Regions from separate parts of the Homo sapiens genome. Here region 2 is linked to region 1. The links are contacts of gene promoters, found by promoter capture Hi-C in blood cells and fetal thymus (Javierre and others, 2016). All regions are on one chromosome and are shown on one strand. The core of a region is centred on a gene start or on the middle of the fragment in contact, and the rest is flanking DNA. Distances in the headings are between cores, read along the strand shown. Region 1 holds the start of CHIC2 (cysteine rich hydrophobic domain 2). Region 2 overlaps AASDH (aminoadipate-semialdehyde dehydrogenase).

Region 1 (5,632 bases), core at 2,146-4,645:
ATCTGATTATGCCTAGAGACTAACCTAGAGAATGGAAGGTAACTTTCTTTCTCACATCACCACAATGACATGCCAATCACGTCACGTGAGAATACCAGTTTCTAAAATAAACAGTAATACTGTAATATATTAAAGTAGAAAAAAAGAGCAGAAATAGTCAATTGTAAAGGGCTACTCAAAAGTTACATCTGTGAAAAACATATGGATTGATCTATATCCTTCTAGACTGATCTAGACTACAGATGATTCAGTTTACATGGTCAATTACTTTCAAATTGGTAAGGGAAGACTGCTCTGATCAGCACCTAATAAAAAAAAAAGGTGGAGGAGGGGGTGTTAAATTTAGCCAGTCTTACTACAACTGTTCTAATAGCTCTTCCCATTTATATTTAAAGCAAGAAAAATTGAATGTGCTCAACAGTTATAGTAATACATATGCACCAATTCTAAAAACCTTTATAGATGTTAACTGGGCTACCCACTGGCATGGTGTGCTAGTGTGCCTGGGAATTATGCATGACAGAGCCATGTTAAAAAAAAAAGTTTTCTATTATTACCTATGTCGCCACAAAACAGGTTAAGTTTTCAATGCAGAAAGATCCTTATTGTCATCAAAATACTTCAAACACAGTAATTTAAGCACATACACATTGCTTAGAAATGGAAAAATAAGACTAAGGTGAATCATTGTTATGTTTGATAATGGCAGTTCTAATTTTTTAGTACTTTGTTTTACACCTGTTTCTCAAAGTGGAAAACTATATCTGAGGAGGAGAATAATAAAAACTAGTATCTATTGAACATAGTACCACACAGTGCAATAAATTCTTTTCATGTACTATCTCATTTAATCCTTAATAATCTTAAAAGGTATCGACTATAACTATCCCCATCTCAACTAAAGGTCATGAATAAACAATTTATCCAGGAAGTAGCTGAGATAGATTTTAACCCAGAGCCTAGAACCAAGATAAATGGGAGAAGAAGGAAGTTGCTGAGGAAAATCAGAGATTTAACTCACAATGTAGAAAGGCATACTGTTTATTGATGATAGATAGTCCCTCCCTATAACCTGGAATAGTTTTCAATCTTGGCTACACATTAGAATCACCTGTGAGATTTTATTTATTTATTTATTTATTTATTTATTATTTTAACTGTCCACTCCTAGGACCCTCACTTAGTATTTGGCCTTCAACTGGCCTGGGGTGGAGCAAAGACAATGGTCTTTTTTTAAAGACACCCAGGATTCTAATGGACAGCTAAGTTTGAAAACCACTAATAATTATTTTCTACCCTATTAACCTCTCCACGTAGCCAACTACAATCAAGTTTACTGATTACCTAGGTTCTGAGCACTTTGCCCACTATTGCATTTTCCACTTGCCCAACAAAGTGCTTAGCTTTTCTTCTCCTTAACAGAGGAAACATTACAACTACAGCGTCGCCTTTTTAAATGACAAAATTCTCTAGCTTTTCTTTGACATGAGGAATGTAGAAGGAGGGATAGATGGCATGACAAAGTTTGGAAATCACTTCTTTAAGCATCCACATACTCCTTAGGCTTAAAACAGTGCAAAAAGGTCCTAAAAGTCAAAATAAAATCAAATGGCAGGTTATGAATTCTGTGATATATGTTAAAAGTTTAATATCCATGATATTTGGTTATACTTCTTAAGCTGGTGACAACACTTAGAAAGTATTATTGTGGTGAATTAAATTCCACTGTCTTGTCATGGTGCTGTGATGGCAATTATGCAGTGTTTTTACCCTGTTAAGTCACCTGAACATAAACTAACAGGTACTAAAGAAATTAAAGCATTACATAAGCATACTCAAACAACAATATGGCTGGTCATACGAGAAATGCAATTATTTTGCTGACAAACTTATATGAGAAGTCTTACTGTTTCCCTAAGTTATTCACAGCACATCCCACTCACTCTTCACCAAAATATAATGAAGACTATTCCAGACATTCTCAGACTTGCTGGCTCTTTTGTTTCACTGAAAAGGTGAAGAAGTACAGAGATACCTGACAAGTATGGAAGTCTGATCTATTATTTGAACAAGAGATCTAAAATGAGAGAGTATCAATGTAATACATCAAGTGGTACAAAACTGTGGACTTCATAGTGAAACATTACAAAACTTCCTGCTTCCGGACAGCTCATTATTTGGTTCAAGGCTTCACATTCCTTTGTCATGGTCTTTCCGAAAGCTTTCATTCCTTATTAATATCAGACTTTTAATGTTACTAGTGGGACTTTCCAAATTAACAAGCCCCAAGTTCGTGCCCCAAGGAGGAGCTTCAGGACTACAATTTTCCCTCAGTAACCTGAGCAGAGTGTATGTCCCTCACGTAGTTGTTGTTGTTGTTGTTGTAAACATATTTCTTTCTGTATATCTTAAATTTGTGTTCAACTATATATTTTTATCACGTACAATTACAAGAACTTGCATTAGTTCTGCGGAAATTAGTGGAAAAACTGGGAGACCTGTGGGTATGTGTGAAATAGACACGAAACGGAGCTTCGCTGCCAATTGTCACTGGGGTCTCACACGGCCCAGATCTGGCCTCTGAGCCATGTCACTGGGTGCAAAGGCACAGACAACCACAGGGTAACTGGGCGAGAAAACAAGGAGGCTCCCTGTCAATACACGTACTTCCACCCTGAAGAGGAAGGGTGGCCCGCAGGGCAGACCCTAATGAAAACCCGTGCCTACTGGGATCGTCACATCGCCCGGGCCTGTAGGGCCTGCTAAAGGGGTGTGTGGAGGAGGAAGGACAGCGTCCGTCCCCACTTCGGAGACCCAAACAAATGAAAATAAGCCAAGTTCTCACTTCCTGGTTGCCTACTCTTTCGGAAGGCCCCCGACACCAGACGGACACAGGGGAAACGGGGCTCCCGTGGAGTAACGGGGCCCACCCCAGCCCGCACCTCCCGCCCTCGCCCTCCTCCGGGCCTTACACGGTGACGTGACCGGAGCCGCGGACGACCACCGGGTCCGGCGAGTACTTGAGCAGCTGCTCCTCCAGGGCCCGCTCCTCGTCCTCCTCTTCCTCATAGATTTCGTCGAAATCCGCCATCCTGAGCCTCCGAGCTCCCCTGCCCAAAGGGCCTGACTCCCGGGGTTGGCGCCGGGGTACCGGCGGGCGAGGCGGCGGAGGCTGAGGGGAGTCGCCGCTGCCGCCGGCTCCGAGGCCGCGGAGTTCGCTGTCGGCTGTCTCGGCTCCGGCTACAGAGGGGATGGGGTCTGGACCGTCGCCGCCACCGCCGCCGCCATTACCATCAGCAATAACAACAACACAATGTCAACATCCGCCCAGAGGCCGACACCTCCACAAGCACAGACGCCGCTGCCGCCGCCGCAGCAGCAGCAACTCAGGAAACCACAGCAACAGCCCGAGCCACCCGCAGCGGGAGCAGCCGGCTACGGCATCGCGAGACTTCCCGGGCCAACGGGCGGGCGGGCGCGTGCGTGGGCGCGTGGGCGAGCGGACTGGCTGGCGGGCGGGCGGGCGCGCGCACGTGCGGCCTCGCGCGCTCCCAGGCCACCGTCTTTCCTCTGCTTCTACCCGCAGACGGCGACCGGGGCGCGCGCTCCCGCCGGCGGGCCCCCCTCCGCCGACTTCTGGGTGGCGGACCCTGGGGGCGGCGGCTCCGCTGACTGGAGGCCGCGACCCGCGACTCCGACAACGCAGCTTGGAATGTCCAGTGGGACATGCAGTTCCCCAAAGTCATCTCTAACCAAAACAAACAACTGAAAAGAAAAGCCCTGGCTGGAATAGACACATTTTTGTGCGTGTCATTGCCAGTTTATCTAATAATCGCATCTCGCTTTTCCTCAGGTTTTGAGTCTATGATGAGAACCAGAGTCTCTTTTTTCCCAATTTGAGGAGTCCAGCAGAGACACTGCAAACATTTGTGCTCACCACAGGATTTTTCAAGACATCTCCAAATTCAAACATCTTATCCCTTGATCCCCTTAAGTATAATCCAATATATGAGGCCAGCGATGCTGGTATTTTTTTTTTTTTCTTACAAGAAATCTCACCGTAGTCATGCTATGAAAAAAAACTGATAAATTACCTGGATTCCATATTAGAAGATGCAGTTTCTTGCCCCAACTCTCTCACCAAACATAACCTGGTTTTTGTTGTTGTTTCCTTAAAATCTTAGGGAATTCCTTTCCTTTTCTTACCAGTTCCTACCACAAAAAAGACCTGAAAGAAAGGGCAGAGGAGAGGAAGAAAAGGAGGCAGGAAGGAAGAAAGGATAGAAGGAAGGACGAGAAGAATGAAAGAAGAATGGGAGAGAAAGAAAGAAGGGGAGGAAGGAAGGAAAAGGTTTAATGGAGTCTACTTAGCTGCCTAGTAACAGTTGAACGGTCACTTTGGGTACTTGGTTTCATTAAGCATATAAACAGCACAGGGGAAGGAGTGGGCTTCTGAGAAGAGAGTCCTGGACAGTGAGGATACACCATGGGAGAAGAAAGGATAGTTCTACTGAGCCCAGCGCTGGTCAGGCTCTTCAAGTGCAGTGTTCATGTCACAGTAGTCGGCTTTAGATGGGTCACTGTTGACGTGGAGAAAGTGCAAAGGAGGTCAATGAGGACAGTGAGAGATGCCAACCTCCTTTTGGAAACAACTGAAGGAAATGAGTGTGGTTAGCCAAGAAAAAATGAAGGAAAAATACAGTAGTTGTATCAGACTTATTGTATCCCTCCCTGGAGGGTATTTGTTCATTCAACAAATATCTACTGAACTCTAGCTATGTGGCAGGCACTGTGGACGTGTGTGAATGAGGCACAGGCCCTGACTTCTGGTAGCTTATCTATTGTTAAGGCAAGCAATTGTCATCTCTGCCAGGGGCTCATGGAGGAGGACACAGGAAGTGTCAGTGGGGCACACAGGAGGCAGCTTGGTCTGGTGTTTAACAATGTGTGTTCTGGAACCTGACTACCTGGCCTTGAATGTCAGCTCTGCCACTTACTGTGTGACCCTAGACAAGCCACTTAACTTCCCTGTTCAGTACCTGCCCCATTGGGATGCTCAGCAGATTCAAGGGCTTAAGATCGGTGAAGTGCCTAGAAGAAGGCCCAGTACACAATAAATACGGGGTAATAGGTGATGCTTAAGGCTCCCTAGCTTATCAACCCTGTGAGGGTTACCACAGCATTATGTAATATTTTACTGCTTATAAAGCACGTACATAATATATCATTTAATATTCCCCCAAGAACCTGTGAGGTAAGCAAAGAGGGTGTATTTATTTTCAGATATGCTATGTTTCAGAGATGCTATGATATGCTATATTTCAGAGATGCTATGTGGCTTTCTCAAGGCCATGTGACGATTTAAGATTTAATGGTCTAATTGAGTATACTGGTGGTCCAAGCTTTCCTGAATGTCTTTTTTTTTTTTTTTTTTAAGACAGAGTCTCACTCTCTCACCTAGGCTGGTGTGCAGTGGCACCATCATAGCTCACTGCAGCCTTGAACTCCTCAGCTCAAGCGATCCTCCCTCCTCAGCCTCTGAATTTCCTCCTTGGCAGGAACCAGGAGACTAGTGGCTGCACTCAGTTAAAGGAACAGCTGCAAATGGGAAGATAAGAAAGAGAATAAGAGG
Region 2 (6,142 bases), core at 3,328-5,827, 2.3 Mb after region 1:
CTAAGACTACAGACTTGTGCCACCATGCCCAGCTAGCACTATCTTATTAATAGGTTATTCTGGTAATATTTGGGGAGCCAGCAACAGAGATAAGATTGTTCTAATATGTGTCTGAAATTTAATACTCCCTAGCTTAGTGATCTAAGTCTAAAATAGAAAATTTAACATTACTGTTTTAATTTTTAAATTGACTACTTTAACATTTCATCTCTTTAGAATCTAATTATTTACCACCTCACTTAAGAACCTAAAAGCAAACCAAAAAAAGATTTCTAACAGGCAAATCAATTGAATGAAGTTGAAGCACAAAATAGGTATCAAGAAATTTGTATAATTTAGTCATAAATCAACCCTTCACCCCTCATTAAGCAAATGTTTGCTCCCATTTCACGGACCATTCTTACCACTGCTGGGCCAGTGCCTCTTAGTCGGCTGTCTCTCCACCTCCCCCAGATTCCTTATCTGCTTCATTTTCTTCAAGTTCCCTACATCCCCATCCCCACCTCACCTCCCACACTCTTAGGTATGACTTGGCCTTCTGCTTCATACAAAAGTTAAAACCTACTGGCTTCCTCTAACACCAAGAAATGTATTTACTTTACTATCCTAATCTTTTTGAGGCTATCAAAAAAAGAGGTATTCCACTCAGTATTTTAAATAATGCCATTCCCTCCCATCTAAATGTATCTTCCTCCCATCTAAATGTATCTTACTCCTTTGTTAATACTCCTACTACTAATTCATTATTTAAACCAACCCCTTCTACCAATTCCCCACCCTCAGCCTCTAAACCGCTCATCTTTTTTTTTTTTTTTTTTTTTTAAGATTGAGTCTCGCTCTGTCACCCAGGCTGGAATGCAGTGGTGCAATAACGGATCACTGCAGCCTTGACCTCCTGGGCTAAATCAATCCTTCCGCTTCAACCTCCCGAGTTGCTAGGATTATAGGCACAGACCACCAGGCCCAGCTAATTATTTTTAATGTTTCTTAAAGACAGAGTCCCACTATGTTACCCAGGCTGGTTTTGAACTCCTGGGCTCAAGCGATCCTCCTGCCTTAGCCTCCTAAAGTGTGGGATTACAGGCATGAGCCACTGCACCCAGCCAACCTCTCCCATCTTAAAGACAAAACACCTGTGTCCATCCCAGAATTCCTTCTTTTCCATTAAAACCAGTTTCTAGAAAATAACATTTGACTTTTGTTACCTCTATTTCGTTATCTCCTATTCTCTTATCTCCAGCCTAATGTAATCTATCTCCAATCTTGGGGATTAAGAAGTCACTAAAGACTATATTGTCGATTACAACAGACATCTTTCTCTACCAGCATTTAACCATTTCTTCTTTCCAGGCCTGCATGTGCCATCCAATACCATAGGTCCACTGAGCACTAAGAATATGGCTAGTCCACGTTGAGATGTGTAAGTATAAAATATATGCCAGATTTTGAAGATGATTAGCATAAAAAATGCAAAATATCTTACTAGTAATTTTTATATTGATTACATATTGAAGTAATGTTTTGGAGTATACTAAATTAAATAAAATATATTGTTAAAATTAACTTTGCCGGGCACGGTGGCTCACGCCTGTAATCCCAGCACTTTGGGAGGCCGAGGCGGGCGGATCACGAGGTCAGGAGATCGAGACCATCCCGGCTAAAACAGTGAAACCCCGTCTCTACTAAAAATACAAAAAATTAGCCGGGCGTAGTGGCGGGCGCCTGTAGTCCCAGCTACTTGGGAGGCTGAGGCAGGAGAATGGCGTGAACCCGGGAGGCGGAGCTTGCAGTGAGCCGAGATCCCGCCACTGCACTCCAGCCTGGGCGACAGAGCGAGACTCCGTCTCAAAAAAAAAAAAAAATAAATAAATAAAATAAAATAAAATTAACTTCACTTGATTCTTTTTTCTTCCCTTTTCATTCATTCCATTTTACTTTTGAATATTACTTAAGCATTTAAAATTACATAAAACTTAAAATGACATAAAATTACGTACATGTTTCATGAGGTTTCTATTTCTGTTTCCTCCTTTGATTTTCTAGGACTACACCCCTAAGGTTCACTTCTTCCTCTCTTTCTTGGCAAATTAAGAATGTCAACTTTGGAGATTTCTAATCTCTTGACCACATCAGCAAGTCAAACTCCACAATACTACTACAAGAGTGAACTTAACAAAATGAGAATCTTTTAATGGTTCCCCATCATCTACTGGATTAAGTTCAGCCTTCAACAGGGCATACCAGGCTCCTGATCTTTCACTGTTTCCTCAGCCCTGCTCTGACATTCTAGTAGGACAAACTCCTTCATTCTCATATAACTCTGCTAGTACCTCTGCTAGGAAAATCCTTTCTCCCTTTTTATTAATAATTAAGATGCAAAGCTTCTAATCATATCATTTGTTTGTTCCGTGTCTGGCCCTAGGCTTGGATGAAACAGGTGAAGGGCCTAGTCTGCAGAGAACTAAAGTTCAGATACAGCTGAAACAAAAAAGACTCAATTTACTTCTTAGGACTATTAATTTAGGAACAAGAGTTATAAAACCAAACGTTTTAAAATTATTTTTTTCCCTTTAAAATACAAGGTTTTTTGTTTTGTTTTGTTTTTGAGACAGTCTCACTCTGTCACTCAGGCTGGAGTGCAGTGGCATAGTCTCAGCTCACTGCAACCTCCACCTCCTGGGTTCAAGCAATTCTCCTGCCTCAGCCTCTCCAGTACCTGGTATTACAGGCACCCACCAACACGCCTGGCTGATTTTTGTATTTTTTCAGTAGAGACAGCTTTCACCATGTTGGCCAGGCTGATCTTGAACTCCTGACCTCAAGTGATCCACCCGCCTCAGCCTCCCAAAGTGCTGGGATTACAGGCATAAGCCACCACACCTGGCCTAAAATATAGATTCTGAGAAAGAGTCAAAGACTAGAACTTACCGAAAATGCTGGATATTTGGTACTATACACTTATGAGGCACTCTGACAATCTTCGGTATCCCTGTAGTCCCTGATGTATGTAGAACATAGGCTAAGCAATGCTTTAGCCTCAGATCCATGTGTTCTTCTGCTTTTTCTTCATTGACATGCTCAGAACTTATGCTTTTTATTTTTTCTTTTTCATATTTCTCTTTTCCATCATTTAGCATCAAGTTCACCTCAGTATTTTTCCAGTGAAGTCTGAAGAGCACTAGGTCATTATGTTCCACTGTAAATGTATCATAGTTCAATAATGTTTCATGAAAAGATTTAAATTTCTGTGTGAAATGGGGGACAAAGTTTACAGTATTAGTATGTTAAAAGATATTCTTCTTTATATAGAAGTAATATGAAATACAGTCATCCCTCAGTATCCTTGGGGGAATTGGTTCTAGGATCATCTCAGATACCAAAATCTGAAGATGCTCAAGTCCCTTATATAAAATGGTGCTGTATTTGCATATAAACCATGCACATCCTCCCATATACTTTAAATGATCTCTAGATTACTTATAACTAATACAAAACTATGCTAATTAATGCTATGTAAATAGTTGCTATATTTTTAAATCTGTATTAGTTTTTACTGTTGCACTGGGTTTTTTTTTTTTTCTGAATATTTTCTTTTTTTTTTTCTTGAGACAGGGTCTCACTCTGTTGCCCAGGCTGGAGTGCAGTGGTATAATCTTTATTTTTTTATTTATTTTTTTTTTTTGAGACGGAGTCTCACTCTGTCATCCAGGCTGGAGTGCAGTGGCGCAATCTCAGCTCACTGCAAATTCCGCCTCCCAGGTTCACACCATTCTCCTGCCTCAGCCTCCCGAGTAGCTGGGACTACAGGCACCTGCCACCACGCCCGGCTAATGTTTTTGTATTTTTTTTAGCAGAGACGGGGTTTCACCGTGTTAGCCAGGATGGTCTTGATCTCTTGACCTCATGATCCGCCAGCTTCAGCCTCCCAAAGTGCTGGGATTACAGGCATGAGCCACCACGCCTGACCACAGCAGTGTAATCTTAACTGACTGCAACCTCGAACAGCTGGGCTCAAGCGATCTTCCCACCTCAGCCTCTTGAGTAGCTGGAACTACAGGTGTGCACCAAAACACCCAGCTAGCTTTTTATTTTTAGCAGAGACGATGTCTCACTATGTTACCCAATCTGGTCTCAAACTCCTGGCCTCAAATGATCTCCTGCCTCAGTCTCCTAAAGTGCTGGGATTATAGGCGTGGGCCCCAAATATTTTCAGTCTGCAGTTGGATGAATCCTCGGATAGGAAACCTCTGGATACAGAGGGCCAACTGTATTCATTTACTCATTCAACATGACGTTTTTGGGGAGTGGGGGGAAGTACTTGCTGTATACCCGGGGGTAAAAAGATAAATAAATCTCCAAGAGCAAAGTGCTGTCCTTACTAACTTATTTTCAAAAACACCAGACATATACAAGCAATTATAATGCAATGCGTATGATAATAAAGCAGGCTTGAAATGTTAATGGGAACAGAGAATGCCGAACTCTGCCTAGAAGGTCAGAGATTGCTTCATGGGTAATATTTGTTATAAGTAGCTATTCTCCAAATAATAAAAATGGGCACTTCAGGCAAACAGCCAACATTGAGGATCTGACCTGGGAAAGCTGGTATGTGAACATTAAGCCTTCCAATTAAGGTAAAGAACGGGGTGGGGGAGAGGGAAAAGGTGAGGTGCGTTGTTGATAGGAGATGAGATGCAAATCCTTAATAACCGTGTACACTCAGCACTAAGGAGTTTAGATCTTAACCTGTAAGTGACAGGATCCAATTGAAGGTGGCAATAGCATAGATTAGACTCTATCAAGGACAGAATAATAAATGAGATTCTGCTAAGTGAGAACCATTTAATGAGTCTTTTGCAGTAATTCGGATATACTATATGGTCCTGAACTACTATTCTGTTACAAGAGGAGTGGTTAGAAAGGGTCTATGAGCAAAGAATAAATAAGACATGGTGACTTTCTGGATATAGAGTGAGTCTAAGAAAATTGTTGGGTTTCTGGCCCAGGTGATTTGGTGGATGGAGAAGAATTAATCCAGAAGTGAGTTTGGATGAAGAGATGCTAAACTGAATTTGTACATGTTGAAAGTAAGGTTTCTTTGAATATATCTTTTTAGGTTGACAACAACAGCTTAATGAAATATAACCTAAGTTTTCACATTAAATAAATCAACATAAATAATGAGAAAAAGGTCACAACCCAGAAGCCTACAGTGTTTTCTTTGTGTGTTTAATGTGTGTATGTATTGGGTAGGGGATGTGGTGTGGCCTGTAATATTTGAAAAATTAAAGAACTACATACGCTTCAGATCTAGCTCAAAACCATCCCTCCCCATTAAAATTCTACTATATCTACTAGGTTATGTTTACTTCACTTAGGACAATTATCACACTATGTAGATGTTATAGGTTCAGAAGTATTAACTTTTCTCTCCAACTACATTATAAAAAGCTGGAAGGCTTATATGCTAATGCCCTCCCAATCATCCTGTCCGTAGTGCAAGGTTTCTCAACTTCAACACTACTGATATTTTGGACCAGAAAATTCTTAGTGGAGTGCTGTCTTATACACTGTAGGATTTTTAGCAGTATCGCTGGCCTCTACCCACCAGATGCCAGTAGCACCCCACTTCCATCATTACAATAAAAAATATGTCTAGACATTGCCAATTGTCCCCAGTTGAGAACTACTGCTTTAGTGGATGCTGGGCATACATACAGTAGATGCTTAAAAATACTTACTGATCGTTCCTGTGTTAAATGAAGGAAGAACACTTACACCATCATCAAAATCATGGGATAGGAAGCAAGGTTTTGCTGCGCCCAACTCCTTTTTGGGTTTTGCTATGTCCAACTCCTACTGGTCATAAAGAATACCTTGACATTGACAATTAATACTGATACTCAGCTACCTTTTATAAAATTTTCACTAAGATTGCTAAGAAAAATAAACATCACATCCCCATTTCAGTTTTGCTTACTTATGAACAATGCAATAACCAATTTGAGGAGTAGAGGAAATTTCGGCTACACACTAATAAGTAATTATTTTAAAAATATTTATTAACCAGACCAGGTGTGGTGGCTCATGCCTGTAATCCCAGCACTTTGGGAGGTCGGGGCAGGCAGAACACTTGAGGTCA

The links. Contacts are between HindIII fragments. The CHiCAGO score rates a contact against its expected background, and 5 or more counts as called.
Region 2: a fragment that was not itself captured here is called in contact with the fragment with the promoter of CHIC2 in region 1 in 1 of 17 cell types (naive CD8 T cells); the score reaches 6.3 in naive CD8 T cells.

The regions. Positions count from the first base shown.
Region 1 is chr4:54,061,210-54,066,841 of GRCh38, forward strand. It overlaps CHIC2 (cysteine rich hydrophobic domain 2), which reads right to left and starts at 3,396. Exons shown (of 6, transcript NM_012110.4): 1 at 2,973-3,396. The coding sequence starts at 3,091. RefSeq lists enhancers at 2,804-3,304, 5,301-5,632 and silencers at 3,104-3,233, 3,464-3,703. The HindIII fragment of the contact is 3,181 bases long and covers 2,220-5,400 here.
Region 2 is chr4:56,375,220-56,381,361 of GRCh38, forward strand. It overlaps AASDH (aminoadipate-semialdehyde dehydrogenase), which reads right to left. Exons shown (of 15, transcript NM_181806.4): 4 at 2,929-3,245. Among named protein-coding and RNA genes, the nearest start is that of AASDH, 9.2 kb to the right of the region's middle. The HindIII fragment of the contact is 4,396 bases long and covers 2,380-6,142 here.